Linked DNA regions of Homo sapiens: all the other regions are linked to region 2. The links are contacts of gene promoters, found by promoter capture Hi-C in blood cells and fetal thymus (Javierre and others, 2016). All regions are on one chromosome and are shown on one strand. The core of a region is centred on a gene start or on the middle of the fragment in contact, and the rest is flanking DNA. Distances in the headings are between cores, read along the strand shown. Region 1 overlaps SPAG9 (sperm associated antigen 9). Region 2 holds the start of NME1 (NME/NM23 nucleoside diphosphate kinase 1). Region 3 has its middle 93 kb from the start of TOB1-AS1. Region 4 overlaps SPAG9 (sperm associated antigen 9). Region 5 has its middle 34 kb from the start of TOB1-AS1.

Region 1 (2,700 bases), core at 39-2,538, 130 kb before region 2:
TTGGAGCACCCAGGTTTTAAGAAAAGAGAAACTGACAAAAAGTTTACAGCCACCACCACTAATAATAATAATAATAATAATAATAATAACAATAGGCCGGGTGCAGTGGCTCACGCCTGTAATCCCAACACTTTTGGAGGCCGAGGCAGGCGGATCACCTGAGGTCGGGAGTTCAAGACCAGCCTGACAAACATGGAGAAACCCTGTCTCTACTAAAAATACAAAAAATTAGCCGGGCATGGTGGCGCATGCCTGCAATTCCAGCTACTCGGGAGGCTGAGGCAGGAGAAACACTTGAACCCGGGAGGCAGAGGTTGCAGTGAGCTGAGATCGCATCCAGTCTGGGCAACAAGAGTGAAACTCCATCTCAAAATAATAATAATAATAATAATAATAATAATAAATCAGGGTTAGGGTAAATTAAGTGAATTTATCATTCACTAAATGTATGACCTTGGGTAAGTAATGTATTCTTTCTAAACCTTTGTTTTATCATCTGTAAAATATAGATAACAGTATCTACTTCTTAAGATTCTTATTAAGTTATTCTACATTATGGCTTAGCAATGTGTTTCACACATACTAAGAATTTAAAATATTAACTATTATTATAATAGTAACTATTTGTATAATTCTAAATACATAATTATATATTTTTATAATTTATAACTATTATAATAGTAACTATTAGTATAATTATAATACATAATTATATATTTTTATAATTTATTAATTTATAATATTTTAATTATAAATTATATATACTATATATAATTCCCTTAAGGGAGTATCAGCAGGAATTATTGCCACATCGATTTAGCTATTGATGCTGAAGTGGTAGCTTTAGATCCACCTTGGCTAACATCAGAAAGTTCAACCTACAAATAGAAGTAATTTAAAAGAAATTTTAATTGAGTAATTTATTCTAAAGTACTTTAAAAATTGGTTAAGAAATAAATTTGCCCAGAGAAAGTCACAATTTTTTTAAAAGGCAATAAAGAGTCACCGATTATCAATAAATAATCTCTCTAGCTCCTCTGCAAATAATTGGGAAATATTTAAGTAAATCGTATTTTTCCAGGCGTACATGAAATTCTTCTTTTTTTTCTAAGACAGAGTCTCGTTCTTGTCACCCAGGCTGGAGTGCAGTGGCATAATCTCAGCTCAATGCAACCTCCACCTTCCAGGCTCAAGCGATTCTCGTGCCTCAGTCCCCTGAGCACCTATGATTACCGGCGTGCGTCACCATGCCCCACTAATTTTTTGTATTTTTGGTACAGACGGAGTTTTGCCACGCTGCCCAGGCTGGTCTCAGATGCCTGGCCTCAAGCGATCTGCTGGCCTCAGCCTCCCAAAGTGCTGGGATTACAGGCGTGAGCCATTGCGCCCAGCCGATTTTTCTAAATAGAAAATTTGAAAATACAATACGAAAGGCATTAGCAGCCAGGCTCGGTGGCTCACGCCTGAAATCCCGACATTTTGGGAGGCCCAGGCAGGCGGATCACCTGAGGTCAGGAGTTTGAGACCAGCCTGGCCAACATGGCGAAACCCGTAATCTACTAAAAACACAAAAATTAGGCATGGTGGCAGGTGCCTGTAATTCCAGCTACCCGGGAGGCAGAGGTTGCAGTGAGCTGAGATCGCACCACCGCACTCCAGCCTGGGGGATAGAGCGAGACTCTCTCCAAAAAAGGAAAAGCATTAGTGATAAAATTACACACTGATGTCAACATCATTTTAATGGCAGTTGCAATACTGTATCACTATTAATTACAGTATATTGTACATATTAATTATAATATATTGTACAATATATTTTACACAACATATAAAAATAAAATAGCATATCCATGTTAAGAGTACAATACTTTGGCCAAGCGTGGTGGCTCATGCCTGTAATCCCAGCACTTTGGGAGGACGAGGCAGGCAGATCACCTGAGGTCAAGAGTTCGAGACAAGCCTGGCCAACATGGAGAAACTCCGTCTCTAAATCAGCCGGGCGTGGCGGCACACGTCTGTAATCCCAGCTATTAGCGAGGCTGAGGCAGGAGAATCACTTGAACCCAGGAGGCAAAGGTTGCAGTAAGCTGAGATTGCACCATTGCACTCCAGTCTGGGCAAAAAGAGCAAGACTCTGTCTCAAAAAAAAAAAAAAAATTGTACAATACTTCATGTATGCCTGTAATCCCAGCTACTTCGGAGGCTGAGGCACAAGAATCGCTTGAATGGCCTGGGCAACACAGCAAGATCCCATCACATAAAACAATAATAATGTATTGTACACTTAAAATTTTTAGAGGGTAGATCTCATATTAAATGTTCTTACCACAATAAAATAAAAAAGGCTGAGGCAGGAGAATCGCTTGAACCCAGGAGGCAGAGGTTTCAGTGAGGCAAGATTGCGCCACTGCACTCCAGCTTGGGCAACAGAGCAAGACTTCATCTCAAAAAAAAAAAAAAAATTGGCCAGGTGCAGTGGCTCACGCCTGTAATCCCAGCACTTTGGAAGGCCGAGATAGGTGGATTAGTTGAGGTCAGGAGTTCCAGACCAGCTTGGCCAACATGGGGAAACCCCGTCTCTACTAAAAATACAAAAATTAGCCAGGCATGGTGGCACATGCCTGTAATCCCAGGTACTCAGGAGGCTGAGGCAGAGGAATCATTGAACCCAGGAGACGGAGGCTGCAGTGAGCCAAAATT
Region 2 (2,700 bases), core at 29-2,528:
ACCGAGTCTCGCTCTGTCACCCAGGCTGGAGTGCCCTGGCGCAATCTCGGCTCACTGCAACCTCTGCCTCCCGGGTTCAAGCGATTCTCCTGCCTCAGCCTCCCGAGTAGCTGGGACTACAGGCGCCTGCAACCACGCCCGGCTCATTTTTGTATGTTTAGTAGAGACGGGGTTTCACTATGTTGCCCGGGCTGGTCTCGAATTCCTGAGCTCAAGTGATCCTCCCGCCGCTGCTTTCCAGCGTGCTGGGATTACAGGCGTGAGCCACCGCGCTCGGCCAAAAGTTTTAAATTTCAGTAAGTTCCAATTTATCAACTTTTTCCCTGTATAGATTGGTCTTTTGGTGTCGTCTAAAAACTATTTGCCTGGCCCTAGGTCCTGAGGATTTTTTTTAACTTTTTTTTTCCCCATAAGTGATTTATTGTTTTACATTTAAATCTATGATTCATTTTGAGTAAATTTTGTATAAGGTGAGAGGTTTAGGTTGAGGTTCTTTGGGTCTATATTCGTCCAATTGCTCCAGCATCATTTGTTGAAACGGCTCCTGATTCCATTTTTGTACCTTTCCCCCGTTCATTTCCCCTTAGAGCAGTGGGAATGTTTTTTTGTTAGTGATGATGTCATGCCTTGTGCAAAATCTGTATTAGCATCTCACAACATAAGATTTGGCTCTATTCTAACGGCATTTTCCACCACTCGATGTCCACCGTAATACTTGGCTCTCGAAGAATCACTGGGCTGGCTCCCTCACTTCATGCAGGTCTATTCTATTATCACTTACTCAGAGATTTCTCTGGCCTTTTCTTCACAGCACTTACAAAATGCGATCTATTACATATTAATTTGCTTATTTGCTTCTTGTTTTCCTATACTCCCATCCCTCCCAGAAGCTCCAAGAGAGCATACTGTTTTATCCCTAGGGCCTAGAATAATGCGTCCACGTAGTAGGTACTCAAAATTTTTTGCTTGACAGGCTAGAAAAGGTGAATAAACACAAAGCGGGAGCGAAAAGTCTACTTCTAGGTCAGGCACTCTTTGGACTTCACGCAACGTGTGAGCGCCACCTCTCGGGAAGCCAATTTGCTCGCGAACGAAGGAAGTGAGTCAGAGAACCCGGGGGTGGAGAGAAGAAAGCAAGCAGCTAACCGGAAAGGTCTGAAAAAGCTAGCGCCGGAAGTTAAACTGCAGAAAGTTGTTCCCTAGAATGACTGCCTACTCCCAAGAGGAAGCGTGGGCGAGCGGTGTTCTGCAAAATGGGCTCTCCGGCAGCGGATCTGCGCAGAAGCGTTCCGTGCGTGCAAGTGCTGCGAACCACGTGGGTCCCGGGCGCGTTTCGGGTGCTGGCGGCTGCAGCCGGAGTTCAAACCTAAGCAGCTGGAAGGGTAAGAGGTGTTCGGGATCCTGAGAGGAAAAAGAAAGGAGTGTAGTCGCGGGAGTGGGTTAGGTGAGGAGTTAGTGAAGAGATGAGTTCAGCTCTAAGAGGCGGCGAGGAGGATCGGATGGGAGGAGGGGCAGGGAGCGCCTGTGGACAAGTGCAGACCGGTCGGCGCACGTCCCACGCCACGTGGACTCGCCTTTGTCGGTGGCCGCCTTTCTCGTCAGGCCGCGACGACAGGGCTGTGCCTTATTTGTGTCTGTCGAGAGCAGTGCCGGGCACGGAGTTGGCGCTCTGTAAGTGCTTGCTGAATAAATGACGGGTGTGTGTGTCATTCATTCAGCAAGCACTGAGTGCTTACTGTTGTGTCACCGGGACCGATGTGGAGGGACATTTTTAGGGTGTATTTCTGGCGCTTTAGTCCTGTTTTCTCCTGGACAATTTATGCTTGCCCCGCACCCCATCGTGCGATTCTCCGCAGTCTTTGGGCTTTGTCTCTCTCTCTTTTTTTTTTTTTGGAAGTTGCAGAATGGTGATAAATGATTTTCTTTGCTCCTATTGACTGCTAGGCCCTGTGGCTAGGTACCATAGAGTCTCTACACAGGACTAAGTCAGCCTGGTGTGCAGGGGAGGCAGACACACAAACAGAAAATTGGACTACAGTGCTAAGATGCTGTAAGAAGAGGTTAACTAAAGGACAGGAAGATGGGGCCAAGAGATGGTGCTACTGTCTACTTTAGGGATCGTCTTTCAAGGCGAGGGGCCTCCTATCTCAAGCTGTGATACAGGGTAGGTCATGAGCGCAGTCTTCTGTAAAATGAGGGATCTGGACGGAATAGTTACTCTCTAGGCTTCCTTTCAGTATGATGTCCCGTATCAGATATTCCTAATGTCTGTAGTTCTCCCACACCCCACCGTTTATTGGCTAGTCAAAATATTCTTTGCATTGTAAAGTGTAGCATAACATTACAAGAATGGATTAATGGGTTGGGAATGCTGGGTTTTGGCCTTCATTCTGGTGCTGTGGTCCTGTTTCCTCATTTGTAAAATGAAGGGGGTTGTAAAGATATATTCTCTAAAACCCCTAATGCTATGGCTGTGGCATTAAGTCAAACTATTATTTCTTACTGCTTTGTACCGGACATCACTTTCACATTAGTAAAACTTTTCATCAGTGTAGTTTCTCCCAAGCTTGATTATTGAGAAAGATAGTGCCTTGTTTTTAACATCCTGTATCCTAGTTCCACCGCAGTGTTTGGTACACAGTAGATGTTTAAAAGAAGCTTATTAAATCAAATGGTGGCCAGGCTCATGGGGCTCACGCC
Region 3 (2,700 bases), core at 51-2,550, 190 kb before region 2:
TAATCGAGTGAAGCCCAGGACTGGGACTTTAAATCAGTCAAGGCCTGCCTAGAGGCATCTGCCCCGTTTCTGCTCTTCTCCAGCTAGGCTCCTTCAGGAAGGATCAACGTTTGAGATGTCTGTAAGAATCACATGCCAGATTTCTGCTCCTAGTTCCTTATGAACAGCCCCAGGCAAACTCTCCAAGACAGAAATGTAGACGGCATACATAGTAAAAGCCTGCTTGCTCAGAAGCCTATCAGGCCAAAATGCACCAACAGGCAAACAGCTGAAAATGCTCTCCTGAATTTGGAACTCAAACCCACTGTCACTTGTCTGGGGCTGGCCAAACGCAGGGGAAAGTCAGCTTGATGAGAAAGAATAGCAGGAAAATAAATCGAGGCCTCTGTGGGGGAAGCATACAAGTATCTGTTAACTGTCGAGTACTACATCTTTATGTGATCTCATTGGTTCTTTCCAACAATCCTGTGAATGAGAGACCATCATGACAATACAACTGATGAGGAAATCCAAGTTTCTGAAACACCATTCCAGTCTCTTTGGGTATCTCTGTACCTGAGACGTCCTACAAAAAATCTTAATCCCACTTCACATTAAAGCCATGTTTCAGGAACCCCAAGGTGACAGCCCTTTCTCCCAAAGACCCCTCTGGTGTGATATATGAGCCAGAATTTTGCATTCTTGCTTAGAAGGAGTGATGCTAAGCTTTTTAATCATGTAGAGAAGCATACGACCATCCTTGCCACTGTTCCACACCATTGTACATCTGATGATGCTAATATCTTATTTGGTCCTTTTTATCTGCTCTACCCACTTATATGCAGTGACTGTGAGTTTAATTATTGTCATAAAGCATTATGAGCAACAGATACTGAATAAATGTTTTGAGGACATCTGAAAATGTGAAATTTACCACTCTTTCATGCTTCAGTATGCCCCTCAATGTGCCTGCATAGGAATGAAATTAACTCTTAGATGCAAAAGAGAGTATGAATTATCTTGTGTTTAATTTTCACGGGATACTCCTTTTCCTTAAAATGGGGGGGGGGTGGGGTGGGACAACAGAGAACAGTATTCCCCAGAAGGTCCAATAGGCCCAAGCGACCCCTGCTTCCTAACACAGTTCTGTTAGGACAGACATGGCCTGGAACCCTGGTAAATAGAATAGAGATAAGAATATTCTGCATTCAACAGGACTTGCAGGCAGTTTTTCTTTTTATCACATTACAAAGTAGATACCATACCTACATCATTTGTTCAACTACTGCTTCTAATATGCAGCCACAGCACTTGATCACGTCACCATTTCCGCATCTGCTTTCCTTGACTAGCCCAGTCTCCTTGAGAGTGTCATAGTCATCTTCAGACACCTGGCATCTAGGAACCTCAGGTCTGCTACTGAGTGCCTAGCAGGGCCAGGTGGCAAGAACCCTTGGGGGTGTTACTCTTCTGACAGTAAGGAAACTGTGACTGAAGGGTCACAAAACTGGGAAACAGGAGATCCAGGATTCAAACCCAAGTCTCCTGATTTGAGATGTGGCACTTGTCCCAACACACCTGCAGTAGCCTCCAGTGTTCAGTTGTTGTACCGCCCACTGAGGCACCTGAGCCTTTACTTGTCTCAGTCGGACCTCTTTACCAGTGGGCAAGGCCACATCTGTGGTTAGGCCTCTGGATCATCTGAAAGCTGTAACACTCTAAAAAGGGGGTTTCCATGAAGATCAACTATGAATTTATAGGCTAAATACTTCAGAAAAAACTATCAGATGTTATGCAAATGCAAGCTAGGCATGATAACAACTAAATGGTTATGGCTTTTTCTAGAAAAAAAAAAAAAAATCAGGAAATAGCCCTGACACGTGAATACAGACTAATAGGAAATAAAATATTTCCTTTAAGCTTTTAATGTAGCAATTAACTTCCCACCTCCCTTCCCAAAGCACTGGGATGACAGGTGTGAGCCACCGTGCCCAGCCTGAGTTCCTCTTGGGCAGATGTTCCCAATGGGAGGATCAGAATCACCTGGTAATTGTTTCCCCATGTTCCCCAATAGAGTCTGATATTCTTGAGAGGAGAGAAAAAGAAAAAAATGTTTATTCTGTGAATAGCTCCCGGGGTGATTCTGGCCATGCCTCTCTCTCCCAGCCTAGCTGAGAACTGCAGCTTCTAACTGAAGTCGCTGTTCCCACGGAGCCGGGGCTTATTTGGTCCACTTCTCCTTTGGTGCTTCAAATCAAATTATAACTTCTTATGTTTTGGAGACAGGCTCAACCTCCCTAGGGCTCAGGTGATCCTCCTACCTCAGCCTCCCAAGTAGCTGGGACTACAAGTCCACACCACCATACTCAGCTAATTTTTAAAATTTTTTGTAGAGATGGGGGTCTCACCATGTTGCTCAGGCTGGTCTCAAACTCCCGGCCTCAAGTGATCTGCCTGCCTCAGCCTCCCAAAGTGCTGAAATAACAGGTGTGAGCCACTGCGCCCAGCTCCGTAACTCCTTTATGTCTGTGGGTGGGAGTGAATGTTCTGTGGTTAAAAGCAAGGAGCTAAACTATGTGGCTTCTTTTGTATAGTGTCATTCTGATAAATTGGAAATTCTAATTAATCCAATCCTACCCACTGGCTATCTGGGCCTCATGAGGGACTGGGCGACAATGGACTCGCAAGCAGGAGTGGTCCTTACTTGTATAGACAACAACC
Region 4 (2,760 bases), core at 151-2,650, 150 kb before region 2:
AAATTGTGATCTTTTCCTGACATTACTGGGTAAGTAGTATTGATTTCTATATTTGAAAAATGACCATCATTCCTAAGTAATAATAATTGCCTTTTAGAGGTCGTAGTAACATCCTCCAAGATCCCTTACTGGCCCAAAAAGCACCTCCTTTGATCACATTCTGTTGCTAATTCTGAGTGTTACTTTAAAAAGTCTCTCCTAGTAAACAGAGAAAGGGGCTTGGATCTTACAGGGCAGGACTTAAGTTCCACATGAAGGAATATTCAAACCTACAAAATAATAGTAGGAAAATAATGGAGCGCTTGTCATACAAACCGAATCATCTCTGTCCATCGAACAGCTTCCTGAAGCTCCATCAATCTCTCTTTATACTGGTTTCGCTCCATGAGAACACGGGCCATTTCTACTCTAGTAAACCGTTTCCTCTGGGCTGTGGGAATATCACTCTATAATGACAAGAAAATGACATATCATTCTGGAAGCTTATAAATGTCTTGGTGTTCATCTCAGAGTTATGCAAAATCTTTCAGTTTTTAAGCATTCCTTAATTTTTAATCTAGTAGATCATTTAAAGAAAAATGGCTTTATAAAAACAAAATCAACAAAGACTTTTTTTTAAAAAAATATATTTTTTGAGACAGGGCCTTGATCTGTTGCCCACCCTGAAGTGCAGTGGTGAAATCATAGCTCACTGCAGCCTGGAACTTCTGGGTTAAAGCAATCTGCCCACCCCAGCCTCCTGAGTAGCTTGGACTACAGGTACATGTCAACACGCCTGACTAATTTTTAAATTTTTTTGTAGAGACAGGGTCTCGTTATGTTGCCCAGGCTCATCTTGAAATACTGGACTCTAGTGGTGCTCCTGCCTCAGCTTCTCAAAGTGTTGGGACTACAGGTGTAAGCCACTGTGCCCAGCCAACAAAGAGATTTAAATAATCACTCATGACTACAAAGATAAAAGGCAGCAATTTAATTTCTGAATATATATACACAGATATTTGAACATATTATAAAGAAATCATAAAGAGTAGTGTGGGTCTGTTCTCATGGTTCTTAAAAATATATAAAAAATAAAGCTAAAAAATAAAAAGAATAGTAGGGGGCTGGACGCAGTGACTCACGCCTGTAGTCGCGGCACTTTGGGAGTCTGAGGCGGGTACAATGCTTGAGCTTAGTTTGAGACCAGCCTGGGCAACATAGTAAAACCCTGTAGCCAGGAGTGGTGGCACACACCTGTAGTCCCAGCTACTTGGGAAGCTGAGGTAGGAGGATTGCTTCAGCTGGGAGGTCAAGGCTGCAGTGAGCCATGACCATACCACTGCAGTCCAACCTGGGCAAGAGAGTGCAATCCTGTCTTTAAAAAACAAAACAACAACAACAACAAAAACAACAACAAAAACAAACAGTAGGGCCAGGCACGATGGTCCACGCCTATAATCCTAGCACTTTGGGAGTATCACTTTGAGCCCAGGAATTTGAGACCAGCCTTGGCAATGTGGTGTGAGATCCCATCTCTACAGAAAATAAAAAATTAGCCACGTATGGGGTGGCGCACAACTTTGGTCCCAGCTACTCAGGAGGCTGAAGTTAAAAAAAAAAAAAAAGCATAGAATTGCTTGAGGCCAAGAGTTCAAGACCAGCCTAGGCAACATAGTGAGACCCTGGCTCTACAAAAAATAAAATTAAATTAATAGCCAGGTGGGGTGGCATGCACCTGTAGTTCCAGCTACTTGGGAGGCGGAGGCAGGAGGATCACTTGAGCCCAGGAGTTCAAGGCTGTGGTGGGATATGATTGCCACTGTACTCCTCCAGCCTGGAGGAGTGACAGAGCAAGACTCTGTCTCTAAAAAATAGTAATAATACTAAAATAAAAATAAAGGATAGTGCAGATTTTAAACTAAAACCAAAATTGTTATCTACATAGATTTAATACACTATTGTAAGTTTCACCTAAAAATGTTGCTCTACCATTATTTTAATTCATGCTCTGTAACAATCGTCACTCAGAAAATAGTTATAAGTTAGTTCCATTTATCTCAAATTACCAAACCACATACTCACCCAAGACCAGCATTAAGGGTAAACTTATTACCTAGTTACCAAGGTACTCAACTATAAGAGTCGCTAAAATACCAACATAAATGCAAACAGATGGAGACAACTGTATTAGCCAGAATTACTCTTAGACAGAGTATGTGAATATAGAGTGAGCACAGGGGTAAGACCTCAAGGGAACATGGCTCAAGTCAACGTCCTATAGGCTTTCATTATCCACATTTTGGATCAAAGCTGAAAGGTTTGGGACATAAGAAAGACACTAAGCTTAGCCCTTAGCAGTCCTCCTCCTTTGTTGTTCTGTTATAGAAACTGGGCCTCTCCTTTCAATAAAGTTAAACAACAAATGATAAAGATCTTAAGTTTATAACACAGCAAGCCCACTAGTAGGTATGTACTCTGGAAAGGCTACTGCTCCTGCCCACCTGGAGACTTCTACTGTAATGTTTGTAACAACAGCATTGTAAAAAGCTGAGACAAACTAAATATTCCTTAACAGGAAAATAAATACATAAATTGTGACTATTCATTCAATGGGATATCATAAAGTAGTGAATATGAATGATAACTACAGCACTGTACTACACGGATGAATCTCAAAAACATGCCACTGAGGAAAAGAAGCTGGTCTCCAAGACTAAATGTAGTGTGAAACACAAAAAAGGAAAAATTAAACCATATATACATATGTGATATGATAAAATT
Region 5 (2,887 bases), core at 283-2,782, 250 kb before region 2:
CCAGTGGGTGAGCCACGTCAGTGCCCATCTGGGAAATCCAAGAGCCAAATGCTGGTAGAACTGGATAGAAACCCCTAATCAAGGCTGTGGGGGGAACAGAGCCAAGAGTTTATTTTTAATTTATTTTTATTTTTTTAGAGACAGGGTCTCACCCTGTTGCCCAGGTTTAAGCACAGTGGTACAATCGCAGCTCACTGCAGCCTCAAATTCCCAGGCTCAAGCGATCTTCCCACCTCAGCCTCCTAAGTAGCTGGGACTACAGGTGTGCACCACCACACTCAGCTAGTTTTTAAATTTTTTTGTAGAGACAGAGTCTCCCTACGTTGCCCAGGCTGGTCTTGAATTCCTGGGCTCAAGCGATCCTCCCAGCTCCGCCTCCCAGAGTGCTGGGATCAGAGGCATGAGCCACCGTGCTCAACCAAGAACCAAGAGTTTAAAGCTGGGCAGATATGAGACAAGAACAAGCCAGAATATCCAGGGATGATTATCCTAAACCCCAGGGAACTCGCTGTTTTCTCTGATGGCTGGTATGCGCATGGTACTCGGGTTATAGGGGCTGGCAAAGAGGGTCAGAAGTAGCCCTCTAACCAGTGCACTGGTTTCTACATGCTGCAGAGAAGTGGCCCAGTCATCACATCCTTTTCCATCCTCCCAGATAACCCGCATCAGTTCATCTGGGTGTGCTGTGGATTGCAAGGCATGAAGATTGACTATCTGTAATTGTTTCTGCAGGAGGCAAGCTGCAGGAGACGGAGGGAGGTAGAGCGAGGGGCCAAGTACACAGAGAGCAGGGCCTGTGAGGAGAGGATTGTCCCCCACTCTCCCTCTCCAGTTTCCTCTCTTTAGAAAGAAAAAGGAATGGACAGGGTCAGCAGAATCTGGAGGCTGCGTTGAAGCTGCCCGTGCTTCTGAACGAAGCAGCCAGTGCCGCTCGACCATCTGGGACACCGGTGGAATTCAGGGCCCCTCTCAGGACATTCAGGGCATGTGGACAAGGTCAGCCACAGGGTGAGGGAGATGGGTAGAGAAAAAGATAACAGGAAATGAATAAGAAAGGGAGCTGCAAAGAGAAAAAAGAGAGCTGGAGAGGAGTAAAGAGGTGAAGGCCCTGTTTCCTGTCCTTGGATTCTTACAGCTCTGCTCACAGCAGCTTCATTTCACACAGTGGCACCGACAACTGATGTGACCGCTTGGGGAGGCAGTAGTGGCGGGAGAAGGCTGGGTTGGGGACCAACTGGGTATGGCATGAGTTTCTGAACCTGGAGAACCTGAAGCCTGATGATCCCTGATGGGAGATGACAACAGGTGGACTGAGCCACTGAGGGGAGGGAGGCGAGCTGGGAGGGGAGGGGGGGGTTCCACGGCAAGCATGTGAATGAGGACACTGGTGGCTGGAGTCCTGGGAGCACCGCAGTCTCCTTTTGGGGTTGATCGGAGCCCTTGGCAGCTTGGGCAGCAGCCATTCATTGCTGTCTTCATTTTATTAACTTTAATTTGTAACTGGGTTGATCAGCAACTGTTCTTCCTGGAGGGTGTAATTAGGGTTATAAATAAAGTCAAGTGGAGAGTTTGGACAACCAAGGGCTGTGCATTCTGTGCTATACTGAGCCCGGGGCCCCCCACGACACCCTCCCTGGAGGACGCCATTTTCCAGCAATAGGTTTGTTGCCTCATTGACTCAAAGGGAAGGCTGAAGTCGCACAGAACCTCATACTTCATGATTTGGAAGGAGTCAGCGTTGGCAACCTTGATCTTCTAGAAACCAGCCATTTGGGGTATTTCCTGGTGGAGCCTTTTTAATTTAGAGCCCACAGCATTCAATTGATCCCAGATGTCCCAGCTCTTCCTTGAACCATCCAGGTATAGTGCATGCTCCTCCCCACCTACCCCATCCAGGCTGGACCCAAGGTCTCTCAGATCTGACTGCTTCTCTCCACCCCTACTGCCCAGGCTTTAGTTCAAGGACAACTCAGTTTCCCTCTGGATTATTCCTTGGTCCTCCTGGTCTCCCATGGCCCTCTCACTGTCTCCAAAGTAACCATCCTAAAGTACAAATATCTCCTTGTTACAGCACTCCAGGACAACCCCAAACAGCCAGCCCCTCACATCTCTTGCCTTTGCACATGCAGTTTCCTTCTCTTTGAATTTGTGTCTCTCTCTTGCCCTTACACGTCCATCATTGCTTGGTCTGAAATTGGTCCTCTACTCTCTTAAATCCTGTGTGTCAGTGTCATTCTGGATTTGCAGATGCATTTTGGACAGGGATCGTATCTCTGAATTTTTTTTCTCTAAGGTCTATCCCAGATAAGGCCCATATATAGATGTTCTAGGTGATAAGGTTCTAAATGTTCTATGTGATAAAGCTGCTGCTGTATATGTGGCTAAGTGTTGAAACCAACACTCTCCAATAAAACTTTACGTGGCGATGGAAATGTCCCATATCTGCCATGTCCAATATGGTAGCCACTAACAACATGTGGCGATTGAGCATTTCAAATATGACTATTGCAGTGAAGGAACTAAATTCATGGTATTGAATTTTAACTTAAGTAATTTAAATTCAAATAGCCACATCTGGCTAGTGGCTACCATATTGGACAGCACAGGTTTGGCTTAAGCCAACTTGGAATAAGGGTTAGTTAACAAGACTTCCTGCCTGTATCAAATTCAGCACCTCACAGCTATTTTTCAATCTTTGAATAAAATAAATAGCAGTAACAACAATATTTAATCCAGGATTAAATATTGTTTTGATAGCTCAGACTGGGGCAATGTCACAGGCTTATCATCCCAGGCAAACTTTTGATAGTCCAGGGCAATTTCATCTGTTTAAAACATGCTGAGGCTGGCGGTATCTTGCCAGCAAATGCCTTCTAAAGAAGGTGGA

The links. The method cuts DNA at HindIII sites, captures the fragments that hold promoters and counts their contacts. A CHiCAGO score of 5 or more calls a contact.
Region 1: a contact is called between a fragment that was not itself captured here and the fragment with the promoter of NME1 in region 2, in 12 of 17 cell types (M2 macrophages, neutrophils, naive CD8 T cells and 9 more). The highest score is 18.4, in M2 macrophages.
Region 3: a fragment that was not itself captured here is called in contact with the fragment with the promoter of NME1 in region 2 in 5 of 17 cell types (neutrophils, monocytes, M2 macrophages and 2 more); the score reaches 11.0 in neutrophils.
Region 4: a contact is called between a fragment that was not itself captured here and the fragment with the promoter of NME1 in region 2, in 17 of 17 cell types (naive CD8 T cells, activated CD4 T cells, total CD8 T cells and 14 more). The highest score is 42.5, in naive CD8 T cells.
Region 5: a fragment that was not itself captured here is called in contact with the fragment with the promoter of NME1 in region 2 in 5 of 17 cell types (total CD4 T cells, M0 macrophages, neutrophils and 2 more); the score reaches 7.0 in total CD4 T cells.

What each region holds. Positions count from the first base shown.
Region 1 is chr17:51,022,573-51,025,272 of GRCh38, forward strand. All of the region lies in intron 6 of SPAG9 (sperm associated antigen 9), which reads right to left. Among named protein-coding and RNA genes, the nearest start is that of SPAG9, 97 kb to the right of the region's middle. The HindIII fragment of the contact is 6,346 bases long and covers 1-2,700 here.
Region 2 is chr17:51,152,281-51,154,980 of GRCh38, forward strand. NME1 (NME/NM23 nucleoside diphosphate kinase 1) reads left to right here and starts at 1,279. Exons shown (of 5, transcript NM_000269.3): 1 at 1,279-1,382. It overlaps NME1-NME2 (NME1-NME2 readthrough), which reads left to right and starts at 1,279. Exons shown (of 9, transcript NR_037149.2): 1 at 1,279-1,382; 2 at 1,945-2,164. RefSeq lists enhancers at 592-1,791, 815-1,346, 1,130-1,549. The HindIII fragment of the contact is 18,411 bases long and covers 1-2,564 here.
Region 3 is chr17:50,958,212-50,960,911 of GRCh38, forward strand. No RefSeq gene overlaps it. Among named protein-coding and RNA genes, the nearest start is that of TOB1-AS1, 93 kb to the left of the region's middle. The HindIII fragment of the contact is 1,194 bases long and covers 704-1,897 here.
Region 4 is chr17:51,001,400-51,004,159 of GRCh38, forward strand. SPAG9 (sperm associated antigen 9) reads right to left here. Exons shown (of 30, transcript NM_001130528.3): 13 at 316-446. Among named protein-coding and RNA genes, the nearest start is that of SPAG9, 120 kb to the right of the region's middle. The HindIII fragment of the contact is 1,840 bases long and covers 481-2,320 here.
Region 5 is chr17:50,899,385-50,902,271 of GRCh38, forward strand. No RefSeq gene overlaps it. Among named protein-coding and RNA genes, the nearest start is that of TOB1-AS1, 34 kb to the left of the region's middle. The HindIII fragment of the contact is 4,004 bases long and covers 1-2,887 here.